2 separate regions of the Homo sapiens genome follow, and region 1 is linked to region 2. Evidence: promoter capture Hi-C in 16 types of primary human blood cells and fetal thymus (Javierre and others, 2016). All regions are on one chromosome and are shown on one strand. The core of a region is centred on a gene start or on the middle of the fragment in contact, and the rest is flanking DNA. Distances in the headings are between cores, read along the strand shown. Region 1 overlaps COLEC12 (collectin subfamily member 12). Region 2 holds the start of YES1 (YES proto-oncogene 1, Src family tyrosine kinase).

Region 1 (3,183 bases), core at 88-2,587, 490 kb before region 2:
CCAGCTGTGAGTTCCTATGTGTCTTAAGGTCCCTAGCACTTGGACCAATGCCTGACACATCAAAGGTGCTCAGTAACTGTCTGTTGAATGGCAATACGGATAATTTATGCCCCAGTTACTTCCAAAAATAGTTTGACCAAAATATATTTGAGGTTTTTGTTTTTATATGAACAGCTTTATTGAAATATAATTGACAAATTGTATAATTCACCCATTTAAAGCATATAATTCAGTGGTCTTTGGTATAGTCACAAAGTTATGCAATTTAGAACCAATCTAATCTAATTTTAGAACATTTCCATCACCCCAAAAAGAAACCCCATACCCATTAGCATTCATTCCCCATTTCCTCTGTCCCCTATCACAAACTTTTAATCTCATTCTGGTGAAGAAAACTAAGATGCCACATTCCAAAGAGGGTCGTGTGTTAAATGAAGCTTTAGATACATAGCCTTTGAAGTCAAGAAAATCTCCAAAAGCTGCTTTGGCTTATGAGCTGATAAGCAGCACAGACCATCTCCCTCTATTATGTATCACAGGATCTGGCCTATAGTAGATGCTCAATAGATACACGTGGAATTGAACGCTTGGCCACCTGGATTAGCTGTGTATGGATGTCTACGGAAAAGAACTAACATTGGTGCTATATCTCTTTTCTTTTTTGAGATGGAGTTTCGCTGTTGTTTCCCAGGCTGGAGTGCAATGGTGCGATCTCGGCTCCCCACAACCTCTGCCTCCTGGGTTCAAGCTATTCTCCTGCCTCAGCCTCCTGAGTAGCTGGGATTACAGGCATGCGCCACCATGCCCGGCTAATTTTGTATTTTTAGTAGAGATGGGGTTTCTCCGTGTTGGCCAGACTGGTCTCAAACTCCCAACATCAGGTGATCTGCCCGCCTCCACCTCCCAAAGTGCTGGGATTACAGGCGTGAGCCACCGTGCCTGGCTGGTGCTATATTTTAAAGAACAATTAACTCACAATATAAGATACTTATGTGGGTCAGTTAGTTTAGCATTCGTTGAGTACTTCCTACATGTGAGGCACATTTATTAACTTATTTAAATCTTCACAACCTCGTGAAGAAGATGCTATTACTATTTCCCTGAGGTTAATCACCTGCCCAGTTAATAAATGGCATAACCAGGGCTGAAACCTAATTGCAGTGCCTGCATTCAGGGCCCTTGTACTCACCACCCCTCACCCTTTCATAGGACATAAGCTGGCAGCTCCCTCTTAAATCCCATCTACTGCTCACCTGTCTCCCTGTCTTTTTCGCAAATGAAGTTATTGACGTCTTCACATTGGAAATCGTTCCACTGCCCAGCATAAATCAACCCAGCACAGTCTTCTCCTGGCCCATGGCCATGACCCCAGTTATCCGGCTGTCCAGCTTTCCAATTTCTTTTAGCAAAACAGAAATTGAATGTTATTTGCACAGTAATGCAGAGCTTTTCTTTACTCAAGAGCAGCAGAGAATATAAAAAAACAAAATTGAAGCATGTCATTTATCCTGGAATGAAAATGCAGTTTAAAAATCAGTACATGCTCTTATTCAGAGAAAGGAGCAGCTGTTTTGCAGAGTAATGCATAATGCGGCATCTCCCTGCGCGCTTGTGATCTTTGCTACCATGAACCAAACTCACTAGGCTGGTTCATCAGAATGCAGAGGGAGCGAATCTTGCTTTGGGACAGTTAGATGAATAACTTTCTAATGTGTACTGGAATGCTGACTTCTGGGCATGAGTGTATATATGTGTGTGAATATCTATTCATTATGAGGACATGATACACACACACACACACACACACGCACACATGATCTTGTGAGAACCCAGAGGGACCTTGTACATTTCAATATCTTGCCTCTAACAAGTCCAAGAGCCAGGAAGAGAAAGTGAAAGACTTTTGATATACATTTACAAGAACCTACAATTACAAATAACTGGTTATGATTGTCTGGGTGAGTTGTAGAAGGTTGATTGCTTTAGAAAGAAATAGTAACTTAATCTTACTGAAAATGACTCCTACATTTCACTCCCTTTTTTGGGAGAGAGATTCTTAAAAACAAGTTTTCTTTAGGATGAGTTCACATGGGGCTTCTTAACTTGGATGCTGCTGCTCAGAACAGCACCTTGCCATGGATAACAGTTCTTGATTACGTTTCCACGAATAAATCAGGTGTGCTTCCAGACTCACCCCTTGAAGGTTCAATCTTGTCTAAGAAGCAGATTCATGCACAGAAGCTTGTGGCTGCTGCCTGAGAGGACAAGCCTGCCTCATGTGGAGGGTCTGGAAGAACATCTGCAGCGGAGGGTGCTTCCTATAAACAATGACTCATTACCGCACTGGCCACAGGGTGTCCTCGGGTCACCCGAGGAGACAGCCTGTATGGCCCTGTATCTTTGGACAATAACACCCGCAAAACCAGAGGCAGCGGGAAAGGACAGTTGAAGTTTAGTCAAAGGGTGGGGACAGGGTAGAACTGACTCCCCCACACCAAATGTGTATTTTGGGATTTAAAAAAAATGAGTATGAAGGCCGGGCGTAGTGGCTCATGCCTGTAATCCCAGCGTTTTGGGGGGCTGAGGCAGATGGATCACCTGAGGTCAGGAGTTCGAGACCAGCCTGGCCAACATGGCGAAACCCTGTCTCTACTAAAAATACAAAAATTAGCTGGGCATGGTGGCAGGCACCTGTAGTCCCAGCTACTTGGGAGGCTGAAGCAGGAGAATTGCTTGAATCCAGGAGGTGGAGGTTTGCAGTGAGCCAAGATCATGCCACTGCACTCCAGCCTGGGTGACAGAGCGAGGCTCCATCTCAAAAATACATATATATATATACATTGAGTGGCCTCAATTAAATAAACCTAGTGATGAAAGAGAATTCAGAGGAAACCATCGATTGGTGAGAGTAAAAATGGGATGCTACTTAGAAGGGAGAGTTAGAAAATAGTCTCACTCACTCACTCACACCAGGCATCCATAGCACTCCTGCTATGAGCCAGGTATCATCTGGGTGATGGCAACATAGCAGTGCAGAGAAGAGACAAAGTCCCAACTCTTACAGCTTACATAACAGATGAGTCACAATGAGTTCAAAATCTCAGCCTGTGACAATCTCAGCCTGACGCCAGATAGAGATGAAGTTGGAAAGAAAAGTAGTTTACTTTCACATTTGGTTTTTTG
Region 2 (2,852 bases), core at 228-2,727:
CTCACACTTATAAGCAAACAAACAAAAACCAAAAAACCATATATATTATTTGCTAAAGTAAAACTTTCTTACTGTACAATATATGAACATCGTAAGTGATGCATACAAGATCCTTGGCTAATACAAGATACTCCTTTATTACCTGACCATTCAAAATGCTTCCTGTCCACCGTGTGCCAAGCACTGTGATAGTTAAGATATTAGATTTACCATGCACTTTTCCTTAAATGCACAGTCACGTGTATACATTTAGTAATACTTTCCTTAGTGCGTAATTTAACTTTAGAAGTGTAACAGGATGGTTTAAATATTTAAAATTATCAAGGTATCTTTGGCACTGTAATCTTACAGTTATAATACATGAAGATACTATAATCATATCATGTGAAATCGACTGTGAAAACACACACCCGTGGAACGTATATACATAATAAATGGACATAAAATTGTGCTTCCACCAAAGACTTTCATTATTTCCTTTAGTAATTTATAATTATACAGTATGTTATTCCACGCCTGTATCAATTAATTATGCAGAAAATGATTCAACCAAATCCGAACTGTTAAGTCCTACTCATTACAAAACAAAAACTAAAGTCCCTACACCAGACTTGATTTTCAAAGAGCTTCTTAAAACAGCTCTGCCCCATGCCCAATAAAGTGAAAGCTGGAAGCAATTATCAAGAAGAAAAACACACTTTAAGACAATTTTCTTTAACACATGTGGACAGGGAACCGAACGCAACGGGAGGCGGAGTGGCATGATTCCGTAAAAGTGGACGCTGAATGGTAAATTTCCCAACCCCCAACCCAAAACAAAGGAAAACTTTAAACATGTTGCGGTTTTCAATCAAACCAAGTAAAGCCAGAAAGGCTCATCCACTCGCCCCACACACCCGCTCCTCTCCCCGCACAGCTGCTACCGGCGTCGGCCGATACACAGACCCCCAGCCTTTAGGACCCAAAGGGGCCGCTTCCCTCGCCCCTACTTCGGCCGTAGGGGCAAAAATAAACCTCTCCTCCCCGTCGCCGGGCGGTCCACACGACCCCAAAGACAAGGGGTGGGGAGTGTCCCCACGCCCCTGGAACCTCAGGTCGGACTTGGGCGGGACCCGGCAGGTCTGGACAGGGCAGAGACCGAGTCAGGGGCGAGCAGGTAGCGCGGGGAACGAGACAAGCCCGCCGGGCGATCCGGGGGAGGGGAGAAGTTTCTTCCCAACTTCCCGACTCGGGCCCGCGGGGGCGGGGAACCGCGGCGGCGGCGGCGGCGGCGGCTCCGGGCGCTGGGGCCTAGCCCTGTCCGGGCAGAGGTGGAACCCTCCGCCCGCGGGGCCCCACCGGGTCCTTACCTGTCCTCCGGCCGCGCTCTCATGAGTCGCTGCTACCGCAGCTCGAGGTGGCGGAGGGCGGAGGCGAGGCCCGCGGGCCCTCTCCCTCCTCCACCTCCTCGTCCCGGGGCGCCCGGCGGCAGCAACGACGGCAGAGCCGGCCCGGGACGCGTTACTTCAGGAGGAGGGAGTTCCCGGGCTCCCCACGCCTCGGCCTCACTCTCCACCTCCTCCGCCCCCCCCCCCCGGCCCCGCCCCCTGACTTCTAGCGGGGGCGGGGGCTGCGGGTACCTGCGCGCGCCGCCGTCCGCTCACCGGAACTCGGGCCACGCCGGCCCGGCTCCGGGGCCCCCAGCCTTCCGGCGCCTACGCCCCCGTCAGGTCCCCTCCGCGGGCTCCGGGCCGCTTTGCTGTGGTCAGGATAGGCGACCGGTCCGTGTCACTTCTCCCGACCCAACATGGCGGCGGGGTCCGGGGCGGATTCCCGGGGGCGGTGCAGGCCGAGGGGGCGTGAGGAGGAGGTGCTTCCCTGCCCGGAGAGCAGGCCCGCGGCGTCCCTTCCCACCCGCGAACCCACCGACGCTCGGCTGCCGCGGAGATTGAATGGAGCGCTCCGATTCTGCCCCTCTGCCTTTCTCTGTTCCTTGGCCCAGCTCTCAGTAGTGGCCAGGGCTTTGGGGCTTGCTTTTGTGGGGGAGGACGGGGTTGAGTTTTTTTGGTTGGCTGTTTGCTTCTCAGCGCTACGCTTCCGCACCCTTTGTCGTTGGTAGTAAAATCTCAAGCCCAACCGCGTGAGCCGGGGGCGTTACTCACACCCTCATCACCATCCTGATCGCCGTCCAAAAAACGTTCACGTCTTGCCTCCTTCCGAGGCAGGGATCCTGTCCCTGCCCCCAGGAGCTTCCTGTTGACTGTAGGTCGAACCAGCCTTGCCGGGAGGGGAACCGAAGCTGAGTTCTGTTTGGCGACTATCCCAGTCATGGTGGCTTTGGCTTATGTTGGGACAGCGTTTTTCTATATGATGCTGGCGGCAGCCCAGTGAGGGAAGTGCAACAAGTATGGTTCTCCTGCTTGTCAACTGTGGAAACAGCGACCCTGAAAGTGGAGGAGCCACAGCTGGAATCGTGTCCGTCTGAATACACGCACCTTTCCTATGAGCCTTGTAAAGCCAGTCGTTGAAGAAGGGGGAGGACCCGGAAGGATGGGGTGGGGGCGTAAAGATGAAGGTTAATCAAGGTCCTCATGGACTGAACCTTGAGGCCCTTCTGCTGCAGTCACTTTTGCCCTATCAGACTTTTAGAGTAACTTCCTCTCTTTATTTCCTCTTTGGTGGGGTTATCAGAATTATTTTGTGACTATTGGTTTCCTTTGCGGTTTTTAGTGAAATTCAGAATCATCTTCGACGGATAGGAAATAGTGCAATCATATGTGTCAGTATTCCGGTATTCTAGGAACTTAAGGAAATGCATATAAGGGTTTGAACATTTTTTTCTTCAGCTCACTAAATGAACGAAAGGTAGGCGT

What was found. Contacts are between HindIII fragments. The CHiCAGO score rates a contact against its expected background, and 5 or more counts as called.
Region 1: a fragment that was not itself captured here is called in contact with the fragment with the promoter of YES1 in region 2 in 1 of 17 cell types (monocytes); the score reaches 7.3 in monocytes.

Annotation. Positions count from the first base shown.
Region 1 is chr18:320,409-323,591 of GRCh38, forward strand. It overlaps COLEC12 (collectin subfamily member 12), which reads right to left. Exons shown (of 10, transcript NM_130386.3): 9 at 1,254-1,399. Among named protein-coding and RNA genes, the nearest start is that of THOC1, 54 kb to the left of the region's middle. The HindIII fragment of the contact is 1,804 bases long and covers 436-2,239 here.
Region 2 is chr18:810,765-813,616 of GRCh38, forward strand. YES1 (YES proto-oncogene 1, Src family tyrosine kinase) reads right to left here and starts at 1,478. Exons shown (of 12, transcript NM_005433.4): 1 at 1,350-1,478. RefSeq lists silencers at 1,085-1,174, 1,245-1,304, 1,355-1,864 and enhancers at 1,596-2,138, 2,139-2,680. The HindIII fragment of the contact is 10,737 bases long and covers 1-2,852 here.